Regions from separate parts of the Homo sapiens genome. Here all the other regions are linked to region 3. Evidence: promoter capture Hi-C in 16 types of primary human blood cells and fetal thymus (Javierre and others, 2016). All regions are on one chromosome and are shown on one strand. The core of a region is centred on a gene start or on the middle of the fragment in contact, and the rest is flanking DNA. Distances in the headings are between cores, read along the strand shown. Region 1 overlaps ARHGEF6 (Rac/Cdc42 guanine nucleotide exchange factor 6). Region 2 holds the start of SASH3 (SAM and SH3 domain containing 3). Region 3 holds the start of DOCK11 (dedicator of cytokinesis 11). Region 4 holds the start of STK26 (serine/threonine kinase 26).

Region 1 (2,700 bases), core at 47-2,546, about 18 Mb before region 3:
GCCTCTTGCAGTTCATTATCCAAAACCTCATCGTCATCATGTAGTGCTCATTCTGTAAGTAGTCCATGTGTTCTGTCCAGAGATTATTGAGTCTTTCGTCAACTCCTGCCTGCTGGAGACTTACAAGAAGCAGCGAGCACACCCTTAGTCTTTTGGGCAGCCTATATTTGTAGATTTTGAAGTACAGTTAAACCTCACTCATTCTGATTTCTCATTATGAGGCCCATCCAAATTAATGAAAAGGTTTACTTAGAGTGTGCAGTTCTGTTTGACAGTATTCAGATACCCCAACTAACTGCTAGCAAAGTATTTCTAACCAGAAGTCCTGCTAAAATATTTTAATGATAAGCAAGGCTTATTTCCATGAGCAATGGTTATTCTCCTACTAACAGTGGGCTAAGTCGAAACAAATAGTTTACCTCCCTAAGTACTTAAACATCTCCATGTCATCTCACTCATGCTCTCACATTTGCTCAGTAACCTTCTTCAAAGGTAAACTTTTAGCATTATCTCCTTCTGAGTTATCACAAATTTAGACATTGGAATTTGAATTGATGAGATTTTACTGTACTTGCTGAGTGAGATGGAAGATATGCTGTGTTGTTTGTTAACATACAAACCTATGATGCCAAAATTCCAGTTTTGAGGACTGTGTGTTGTGGTTGGAAGAATATGGACTTTGGCTTCAGATCTGGGTTCAAATCTTGGCTTTGCCAATTACTAGTTAGTTGCTTCCCTTGACTGAGTCTATGTCTTAGGCTGTTCTCATGAAATAACCTATTTAAGCACCTACTAGAGTGCCAAACATATCACTGAACTCAAATGTTGACTGCTACTCCATTTTCCTTCCTTACAGAGGAAAGAAAATTAAATTAATTAAATTCCAGATGAGAAAGAGAGGACAGGATCATGGAATGTTGAGTCAATTTTGTGCTGTTTCTTAGAGACCCGATAATCTGGACTGGAAAGAACCAGTTCTCAAACTAGAGACTTTTGTTTTTCCATCTATCCCTTTCTATGGCTGTCTTTGCTAATCCAATGAAGCTATTGTTGTTCTCTCACTGTGTGGCACAAGGTCGGGTTCAGATGGCAGATTGCCAACATCTCATCAGACATTTTCCCAGTCTTTTAGCTCTACCGGACAGCCCCGAGGACCCTTGGAGCCTCCTCAAATTATAAAACCGTGGAGTTTAAGTTGTCTACGACCTGCACCTCCACTTAGACCATCAGCAGCACTAGGTTATAAAGAGGTAATTTTGCTACCTATGGTATAAAATGCTTCTGACAAGTTAATTTCGTAGCTTATTACAAATAGTTCTGTGGGAATGTGCTAGAATTTAAGATAGATGGTATTATGTGAGTCAGTCTTGAATTGCCAGACTCAGTGATTTGTTTGATTTCTTAATTTTCCATTTCCCATTGTCCATCTGCAAATATGTACTGAATATCTACAGGATCTATGTGCACTGCCTGAGTGTTCCCAGTCTCCTCCTGAAGTGCCTCTGGTTTACCTTAATGATTATTATGATAATCCTTTAGATTTGTTAATAATGTACACAAATCTCAAACAAGAGCCACTTCATTGTAGTTGAGTTGCCAATGAAGCAGACTTAATTCAGCATTTGGGATCATTTTGATCAATTTGAACCAAATTAGTAAAGTGTTATGGGACCAAGCTATGAGTCCAAACTATAAAAGTGATATTTGCTGCAATTGGAATGAGAAAAGAATTTGATGAAAGCAGTGTCTTTTAAAAAGAGGCTTCTCAGAGACAACCTTAAAGGCCATTTGATATTTGGGTAGTGTGGGGATTTAAAGGTTTTGTGTATTTTTTTTTTCTCTCAAAGTTGCAGTCAGGAAGTGTCACTCACTAGCTTCTGTAACTGTGTGGAGTATTACTTTTCCATCCAAACAGTGGCTTTATCCCTAACCTGTCTCAAATCATTTCAGATTTCAGAAATGATGCTCATTTATTAGTAACTGTTCTTTAAATTGGTCTTGTTGAGTGAAGATTAAGTTTGTGACAGTTATGAGATGAGTCTTAGAATTATGGGGCAAAGGTGGCTTATATTTCTATATCAAACGTGTGTTTTGATGAGTGATGCAGACTTAGCTCAATTTTGAGTGTTTTGATTGAAACCACCATGCTTTTGTTTCGATTAATTGTTGCTACCAACTCTAAGTGCAGTAAAAATAGGACAATATTTGGACACTGGAGGATTTTTTGATCCTTTCAACTTGACATGATAGGACAAACAACCCTCGAACTGAATCTTTGTTATATAACTCTATTTAGAATTTGGTCAGGAAGCAGTCCCACAGATTTGCTTTGGAAATTTACGTGCAATTCTTGCAATCATCCAATTTTCTTCTTTGATTATGTAAACCAGGAGTGCCACTTGATAGTTACCTAGGCCCCCTTTTTAATGATGGATATTTTGTAATTATCAGTTACTAAGTTCAAATTAAGGGTGAGCTTTGAAGAGTAAAGTTGACTTAATCCTTCACAAAACTAATCTATTAAAACTAAGGCATGATCACTTTGTTTCTGCTGGGGGAAGAGAGTTATTAATATATTCCTACTAGATAGTATGTATTTCAGTTGTTTTCAGCATTTGTTATTCTGCACAGAACTGTATTCCTCGGGCTTTTGCATGATAATATTGCATCTGAAACTAATGTGGGAAATGTGATTATATT
Region 2 (2,700 bases), core at 15-2,514, about 11 Mb before region 3:
GGCCGTGGCCGGGGCAGAAGTGGCAGCAGGACCAGCGTAGAGGAGAGATAGTTAAGTACAAGCTTAGGGTTCAGCTTAAGCATTGTATTTTGTTATTCTCAAATTCTAGTCTAAGATTCTGGCCCCTAATTTTAGATCTTTTTTCCCATTCTTCTAGGGTTGAATTGCATGACTCTAGATTTCTAAGGATCTATTCTGTAACTCTGTTGCTCCAGAATTTTAAACATCTCTTCTGTACTTCTGTTAACCTTTGGGTCCCTGTCCCGTTGCCTTCTAGGTGAGTGGCCCTCACCTACAGACTCAACATATGGCCTTTGGCTCTTCCCACTTCCAAGAGTCTTGGAAGGGATGGGTCGAGCAAGCAGAGGAAAGGAAGATGTGAGTTCCCAAAATGCTCCTCACCTTTTTCTTCTGAGTGGGCTCCTTCTCACTGGCATTGGAGGGCTTGCGGCGCAGCATGGTCCTCCACCCTGGGAGACTCCGTCCCTGCTCTCCTAGGTGTCAAGATGCAGAGGCCTCTTGCTTAGCCTCACCAGAACTGCCCGGGGGCACGGCATGAACCGAGCCTTCAGCTGCCACTCTGACTGCTGCAGTGGCAGCTTGGGGGTGCGGGCCATGGACACCCGGCAGCAGCAGCATACAGGAAGCCCTGCCACGTGACCTACTCTTACAGCAATCGCAGCCCCTGCCGGCCCCTAGGGAGGAAGGAAGTCCAAGCTTCAGTCTCCAGAGATTCTGATGCAGACGGCTCTTGGGTTGAACAGTCAGAGAAAGTCCCTACCTTGTTGTCTCATGTCGATCATCATCAGTCCTTCTGCTCCATCTTCCTAGAGGTGGACAATCAGCTCGACATTATATGGCGTACCCAAGCCCTTTATCTCACTGACCAGAATCCAGAAACCAGAAGTTGGACCATCTGGCTGCCTGTTGGATCAATGCTCCCGGTCAACTCACGTCTTCAAGGTCGTCACTGCCATCACTACCACTACCATCACCCCTGTGACCATCACCACTGCTACCATCACTCCTATCAATAGCCATCACCATACAGCCATCACCCCTACAGCCATCAGGCCTGCAGCCATCCCCGCTGCCATCAGCACACCTATAGCCATTGTCACTATGGTAATCACCTCTACAGTTGACATCCTTCAGCCATCACCTCTACAGTCATCACCATTGCTGCTATCACCCTTCCAGCCATCATCCTTACAGCTGTCACCCTTCTGGACATTACAGCCAACCGCACTCATGACCCTCTCACCCCTATAACCATCGTCCCTACAGTCATCTCTCCTACAACCATCATCACATCCGTGCAGCCATCAGCCCTGCAGCCATCACTCCTACAGCCATCAGTACACCTAAAGCCATCATCACTAGAGCAGTCACCCCTCCAGTCAGTACCCCTCAGCCATCATGAGTATATTTATCACCACCACAGCTGAAAAGCACTTACAGCCAACTCCACACCTCTAGCAAGTATCCAACAGGCATTTATCAAACACCTATGCAGTATATTCAATTTGTGGGTTGTCTGTGGCAGATTTTAATAACTTTAATAACTTCTTGGTATTACAAAAGCAACTTGTATTTGTCATACAATTTCACAAACACATAAACAAAAAAAATTTCAAAATTTCCCATCATTGTCCTCTACACTGTTTTAAGCATCTATCTACTCTCTGTCTATAAACATTTTTTTTCTTTTTACAAAAATCATACTGCTCAGAAAACAGATAATTGGTTTGGGGAGAAGGGGAGGGGAGAGAAGGGAAGGGAGACATCACACAGGGTAACAGGAAGCTTTTAGGAGTGATGAATATGTTCACTATCTTGACTGTGGTGATGATTTCATGGGGGAATACACATGTCAAAACGTATCAAATTGTATACTTCAAATATGTGCAGTTTATTGTAGCTCCATTATACCTCAATAAAGCTGTTTAAAATTTTTTAATTAAAAAAGGTCATAATTCACACTATTGGTGTCTGCTTTTCACACTAAACACAGTATCTTTTTTGTTTTTTTTTCGAGATGGAGTCTCTCACTCTGTCTCCCAGGCTGGAGTGCAGTGGCGTGATCTCGGCTCACTGCAACCTCCACCTCCTGAGTTCAAGCAATTCTTGTGCCTCTGCCTCCCAAGTAGCTGGGACTATAGGTGCGTACCACCACCCTGGTTAATTTTTGTATTTTTTGTAGAGACAGGGTTTCACCATGTTGCCCAGGCTGGTCTTGAACTCCTGGTCTCAAGTGACCTCTTTGCCTCATCCTCCCAAAGTGCTGGGATTACAGGCGTGAGCCACTACGTCCAGCTGAACACAGTATCAAGATTGTCTCATGCTATGAAATAGTCTTCAACTACGTAATTTATAACGGCTGTGGAACATCCCATTGTGTGGATGTGCCGTGCTTATTTCACCAAGCCCTTGCTGATGAACTTGGGTTGGCTTAAATTTTTAAATTATTCATTGAACATACTTATGGTAAATATTCACATCCATAGTTTTTTTTCTGTAGGGGAAATATCCAGAAGAGGAATTGCTGGGGTCAAAGGTATGCACATTTTTAAGGCTTTCAATTCTGTGGTACTTGTGAAATACTAGGCTTGTCCACCCCTGTTCCCAAGATGTTCTCGTGACTTCCTCTCCGATTCTGCTTTATGCCCTCTGACCATCCAACCTTCAGGGTGAGCTCAG
Region 3 (2,700 bases), core at 110-2,609:
CAAACGACTCGCTGTAAAATGGAGCTGAGGGAGACAAAAACAAACAAAAACAACAACCAAAAAACAAAGTAACAAAACAAACACTAATTAATCAGTCCGATTGCTTATTCAGGGTTTGTTCGCTTGTCCAGGAAACTGGCAACGAGTGTCTTGAAAACAAGAGAAGGGGCAAGTGCCCGTTAGCACCCTTTAGCCTTTCTCCAGAGTCAGACAATCTGGATAAGGCTGAGGGTGCTCTGGGAGGGTTCCCAGGGAGTCAGCGCGCTTTCGAATCCCCATCCCCCAGTCCTGAGCTGTGGGGCTCTGACCCCAGGTCCTCCATCCCTGGACTGACACACCCAGTCTTCCCCCAAATCCCCACGGCACCGTCCCCTTGGTCCCCTTGCCTCTGGAGCGCTCGCGTGTCCCCGAGGGACACACTCTCCCTGCGGTGGATGACCCTGCGCCCACTCTGTCGCAGAACCCCGTTGTTTCTAATGCCCTTCCTCCGCAGCAGCACCCCTTCAACACCCATCACCACCCTCTCTCCCCAGTTGCAGGAGGAAGTCGCTCTGCTTCCTCTGTTCTCACCGCCAGCCCGAGCTTGGGCGCCCGGGGCTTTCTGGGTGGGGTTCTTTTTTGTGTACACAGTGTGTGTATGTGTGCGCGCGAGAGTGTGTGTGCCAAACGCTCATCGCATCCTTCCGCCTAGGCGGCCTCAGGTGCTCGCGGGAGGGGATCAGGATCTCGTCGTGCCCTTGTCCCCGGCTCTTTGTGCCGAGTCCAGAGCAGCGCGAGGTCAGCTCTTTAGCTCACACCCCCGGCCCCGACCCTGGGTGGGAGCCTCCGCCTCCGCCTCCTCCGCAGCCGTCCGAGCCCGGCTTTTGCCCGTCTGCTTCCATCCCGGCGCACGCCTCCGCCGTGCCGGGCGGCCGGAGAGCTGTCAGCCGGCGCCTGGGACTCGGACCCCGGCCGGCGGCTGCCGGTGCGAAAACTTACTGGAGCGGAGAAAGACAGCGCGCGGCGCACCAAGCGGCCGCACTGGCGCCGTTCCTGCCCCTTCCCGCGTCGCTCCCGCCTGGAGCGCGTCCCCCGGGATGCCCCGTCCCCCGGCCACTCACCAGCACCACGGAGCCCCGCACGGCCTCAGACACGCTCTGCCGGAGCTCAGCCGCCGTGCCAGGCTTGCTGAGCCGTTTGGTGAATTTGCGCACTTCGGCCATGGCAGCGGCGGCGGGCGGGTCTCGGCGGGCGGGCGGACCTCGGCGGGCGGGTGGACTCACTGCCCCGGCCCGCGGCGGCCGCGGCCGCTGCTGCTCCCTCTGTTTACTCGCCGGCCGGCCGGCCACATCGCAGCTCGGCGGCGGCGCGGCTCACGCTGCTCCTCCCTCCCACCTCCCACCCGCTGCTCCTCCCTCGTTCCCTCCTTCCCTCCTTTTCTCGCTCGCTTCGCCCGCTCACTGTCCTGCCCCACGGCGTCGGCGGCGGCAGCTCCCTCCCCTAGAGGGCCCGAGCTCCGATCGCCACCAGCCGAAGCAGGAGGGTGTGTCTGATGGGGAAGGGTGTGTAGAGGGGGAGGGAGAACTGGAGGTGGGGGCGAGGGTCACGAGGGAAGAGGGGGGAAGTGGCTACCGCTCGGGCTCCGCCCGCAGCTGATGTTGCTGGTGCAGCCGCATCCGGGAGGGGAGATCTGGGCTGCTTCTTTTTTTCCGCTTGAGTGGGGAGGGCGGGGTGGGGTGGGGGAACAGAGAGGGGTGATGAAATGTCTCCAAGAGTGGGGCGTGCTCCTCTCCCGCCCTAGTGCTCCTCTCCCGCCTCCGAGCTGCAGTGCCCGCAGGAGGGCTGGAGAACTCTCACGTCCCTCCACCCCGCAAGCCCCCAGGGCCCAGGCGGCTAGGGGCTGGAAAACAACGTGGAGCAGCCGCCTTTTGTGTGCTCCTTGGGGAAGGGTCGCACCAATGTCGAAGGACAGAGAGCTGCTTTCCAGCGTGAGCGGCTCGACTGGGTCCCCCTCCTCGCCCACACCGTTTTCCTACTCAGTTGGCTCACCTAACAGGGGGCAACACTGGGGAGAGAGCATGCTTCTGGAAGTGGGAACTTATTGTGGCGGCACCCCTCGCTCCGTCCCCCACGGGGGAGAGCTGGGTGGTGGAGCCTGAGCCTGTGGCAGGTGATCCCTAGGTCAGCACTGACTGCACCAGGAGTGGGGTGGGGGTGGGCATTAGGATGAGCCTGTGGCAGGTGATCCCTAGGTCAGCACTGACTGCACCAGGAGTGGGGTGGGGGTGGGCATTAGGAAGGCCATCTCCCTGGGTTTGGTGGACTTACCAATCTTATAGTAGCTTTTACAAGTGCCCTGCACTCACCTCTCCATTTCCTATTCATCTCCTTACTCTTTTCAGCTTCCAAGAAATTGTTTTTCCAAGAATCAAAGAACATCTCATAACAGGGTATAAAACGAACATGCTTAAGACAGAAATAGGGACGGGAATCTTGAAGTACTAGTGACCCTGTCAGACCTCCTGAAGTGCAGAGTGAAAGGCTCCACTGATGGTGGCAGTTTTCTATCTGGTTATTTCATTTGTTGAGAGTTTGAAAATGGCCCTCAGTCTGGGGGACCGAGCAGCCCTTCTGAAAGCAGTCCTACCACCACCCATCGGGCACTTTCCCCACCCTCAAAGACCAAACAGTCTTTTAGGGGACTTTATTATGGAAACAAGG
Region 4 (2,700 bases), core at 16-2,515, about 14 Mb before region 3:
GCAAAGGAAAAAAAAATAGAACATGAATGCTTTAAAAAGTTAGTAAATTTGGATAACACTTAGCAGATAGCCTAAAATGCACCGATTTAAAAACATAACAGCATAAAAAGTTTTCTGACATAGCTTATCTTTAATAAAATGAAAATATAATGGGAGGGGGTTGGGCTGGGTAGACTTCGAGTAACAAGTTGGGTCCCATGCAGTAGTCCCTTGTCCAAGACAAAAAGCTTCCTTTAACCACATGTAACAGTCATCTTGTGGGAAAGGCACGGAGGGGGCTGAGAAGTCATCACCTCAGTGACTCTGAACAGAACCAGCATTTCTCACGCCACACTATGGGCTGGGCTAGGTCGGGGAGCAAGCTACAACTTTGCCCTTAAGCAGCAGTACCGAAAGGGAGAAAGAGGTCACCTCTCTCTTAGCCCTACGCACACAGGAAGAGCCCAATTCAAGCCGCCGCCGCCGCCACCCCTGGTGTTGCCCCGCCCCAACTTGAGTGTGTGTTTGGGGTGGGGGGTGTAGGGCACTCACTACTCGCGTTATACCCCACAAATTCCAAGGCACTTCCATCTCTCCCAGGTTAAGTTCCGCCCCCCCATCCCCAACCGTGCCAAGCTCAGCAGGCGCAGGTGTCTGTGGCTCTGGCCTATTTTTATACCCCCAACCGCCCTCAATCTCCACCTAGTTGCGCGCTCCAGTCCCGCCTCGCCTTCCCAGCGAAGAGCACTACCTAGCCTACACACCAGGAAACACCTCCAGCCCTACTCCCAGGTCACCTGGCCATAGTGACCGGCCCTGCCCTCAGGGGAGCCCTGGGGCCGTCCCTTGTCGCCGGTGCCCAGCACCGAGGGCGCACCGGGCTCCCAAGCAGTCACGTGGGCGGCGGGGGCGGCCTGCGCTTCCTCACCTGCATCCCAGGCACTTGGACAGCCACCGGCGAGTGGGCCATGGAGGCGAATGCTGCCTCGCTCCGCTTCTGCGGCGGTGGCGCCTTGGGTTCGGACTGGCTCCTCCCTCCGGGGGTAGTTCGGCGGCCCTCCCAGGCTTTTCGATCGGGGCCTGGGAGGACACACAAAAGTGGGGTTACTGGGCTGGCGGCGCGTAGCCCGGGGCTAGGAGGTGGGCTGTTAGCGGCGCAGCTCCCTGGGACTCAGTCTACCTTTCTGGCGCCCGCCCGCCGCTGAAGCAGCCGCCTCCGCTGCTGCTCCTCTTCCTGAACGCCGAGCGCTGTGAGTGGTGGTGGCTGGGACCTGGGCTCGAGTGATGCCGCTCCTCTGCGCCTCGCCGCTTTAGGAAGAGGAGGTGGAGGCGCCCCAGCCACCCGCCTGCTCGCCTGGCCTGGGAGGCGGTTGGGGGCGGTTCCGCCGTTGGCCCTGCCCCCGCCCCGCAGCCGGGCGGTGTCGCGGGAGCCAAGGCTCCAGGCAGCGAAGAGGTTTGGCTGGGGTTGCTGGAGTCTGAGAAGCTGGAGACTCTCCCGGCACGCGGAGAGGAGAACCCGGGGACCCGGAGACCTGGGACATGGCTGGGCCTGGGAAGAGAATGGAAGAGTTTGGGAAACCCTGAGGGTATGAGGGCGCCCCAGATGCGGCCACGTTGCAGGGAGGCGTGCGAGGCTGGGGCACACGCAGCCTCGGAGACGACTTGAGCTGAAACTTGGGGAGTGTTGGAAGTCTTTCTTGGCTCCCCGGCCTGGCCAAGGGTAGGATTACAGATAGCCGCGGAGTCGGTGGACCCCCGCTTTTTCCCGCCATCTGGTCTCCTCAGCTGGGGGTCGCGCCTCTGGGCAGATCTGTGGCCACACTCTTGCTTTCCGAGTTCCCTGACCCCAAACATGCTTCAGGTGACTTCAACTTAAGGTTCCCCCTACCTCCTGGGCTATCCCTTGCAGAACGGCCAAACTAGGGCTTCTCTCTACCACAAGTTCTGCACGTGTAAGGCAGAGGGAAATTGGAAAACAGATGGTACATCGGCAGAAAAATTAATGAGGATAGTAGAGGCTTGGGAAATGAGATTGGATCGTTAGCAGTACAGGTTATTGAAATCAGCATACACTGCAGTGGTTTTGGTAACTCCCTGCCTCCGCCCCATTTTAAGTTCTACTCCAGGAGAGGGAGACAGGCTCTTTTGAGAGTACTCTAACAGTAGCGACAGTAACACTGGTAATAATAGTAACAGGAATTTCATTATGAAGGCACCTTTGGGAACACGTAAGGGGTTAATTACTTTTTAAAAAAGTAATAGTCGAGTGCCAGTTTAAAATGAAGATGAAGTTCCTTACCTTGAAATTTGTTATGGGTCTCTACGCACCACACGGTGGGGGGCCTCTAGTGGTAAAAGATAGTTTCTCTTCTTCCTTTTAAATCTTTTTCAGAGAATAGTATATAATTCTTATCAATATCGTTATTATTAATGGATATTATTTTCATTGTGCCAGGGACTGCTAAGTGCTTTCTATGTGTTATTAATACCTTACTGAACCTGTACAAGGGCCTTCTGGAGTCTTATTGATTTCCCCTCATTTTACAGATGAAGAAAAAGGCTCAACCAGGTTAAATAATTTGACCGAAATGTCACGCAATTAAGAAGTGGTACAGCTGGGAATTCAGACGCAGGTCCCTCTGACTGGTGATAAACTTACTACTTTCTCTATGGTTTCTGTTTGTGTTTAATGATGATAAAAGGTACAATTGCATTTTCCTT

What was found. Contacts are between HindIII fragments. The CHiCAGO score rates a contact against its expected background, and 5 or more counts as called.
Region 1: a contact is called between a fragment that was not itself captured here and the fragment with the promoter of DOCK11 in region 3, in 1 of 17 cell types (non-activated CD4 T cells). The highest score is 6.6, in non-activated CD4 T cells.
Region 2: a contact is called between a fragment that was not itself captured here and the fragment with the promoter of DOCK11 in region 3, in 1 of 17 cell types (activated CD4 T cells). The highest score is 5.7, in activated CD4 T cells.
Region 4: the fragment with the promoter of STK26 here is called in contact with the fragment with the promoter of DOCK11 in region 3 in 1 of 17 cell types (activated CD4 T cells); the score reaches 13.4 in activated CD4 T cells.

The regions. Positions count from the first base shown.
Region 1 is chrX:136,678,085-136,680,784 of GRCh38, reverse strand. It overlaps ARHGEF6 (Rac/Cdc42 guanine nucleotide exchange factor 6), which reads left to right. Exons shown (of 22, transcript NM_004840.3): 15 at 1-54; 16 at 1,125-1,250. Among named protein-coding and RNA genes, the nearest start is that of CD40LG, 31 kb to the right of the region's middle. The HindIII fragment of the contact is 3,252 bases long and covers 1-2,700 here.
Region 2 is chrX:129,777,857-129,780,556 of GRCh38, reverse strand. It overlaps SASH3 (SAM and SH3 domain containing 3), which reads right to left and starts at 608. Exons shown (of 8, transcript NM_018990.4): 1 at 403-608. The coding sequence starts at 459. It overlaps LOC124905215 (a long non-coding RNA gene), which reads left to right. Exons shown (of 2, transcript XR_007068328.1): 2 at 278-1,982. RefSeq lists enhancers at 258-317, 368-447, 698-857. The HindIII fragment of the contact is 1,089 bases long and covers 720-1,808 here.
Region 3 is chrX:118,494,474-118,497,173 of GRCh38, reverse strand. DOCK11 (dedicator of cytokinesis 11) reads right to left here and starts at 1,359. Exons shown (of 53, transcript NM_144658.4): 1 at 1,101-1,359. The coding sequence starts at 1,202. RefSeq lists silencers at 832-891, 1,062-1,121, 1,212-1,291, 1,402-1,541 and enhancers at 571-1,549, 1,952-2,021. The HindIII fragment of the contact is 5,195 bases long and covers 1-2,700 here.
Region 4 is chrX:132,021,867-132,024,566 of GRCh38, reverse strand. STK26 (serine/threonine kinase 26) reads right to left here and starts at 1,265. Exons shown (of 12, transcript NM_016542.4): 1 at 1,160-1,265; 2 at 908-1,059. The coding sequence starts at 949. RefSeq lists enhancers at 584-653, 623-1,170, 1,024-1,183, 1,634-1,683, 1,171-1,717 and a silencer at 1,224-1,473. The HindIII fragment of the contact is 2,994 bases long and covers 230-2,700 here.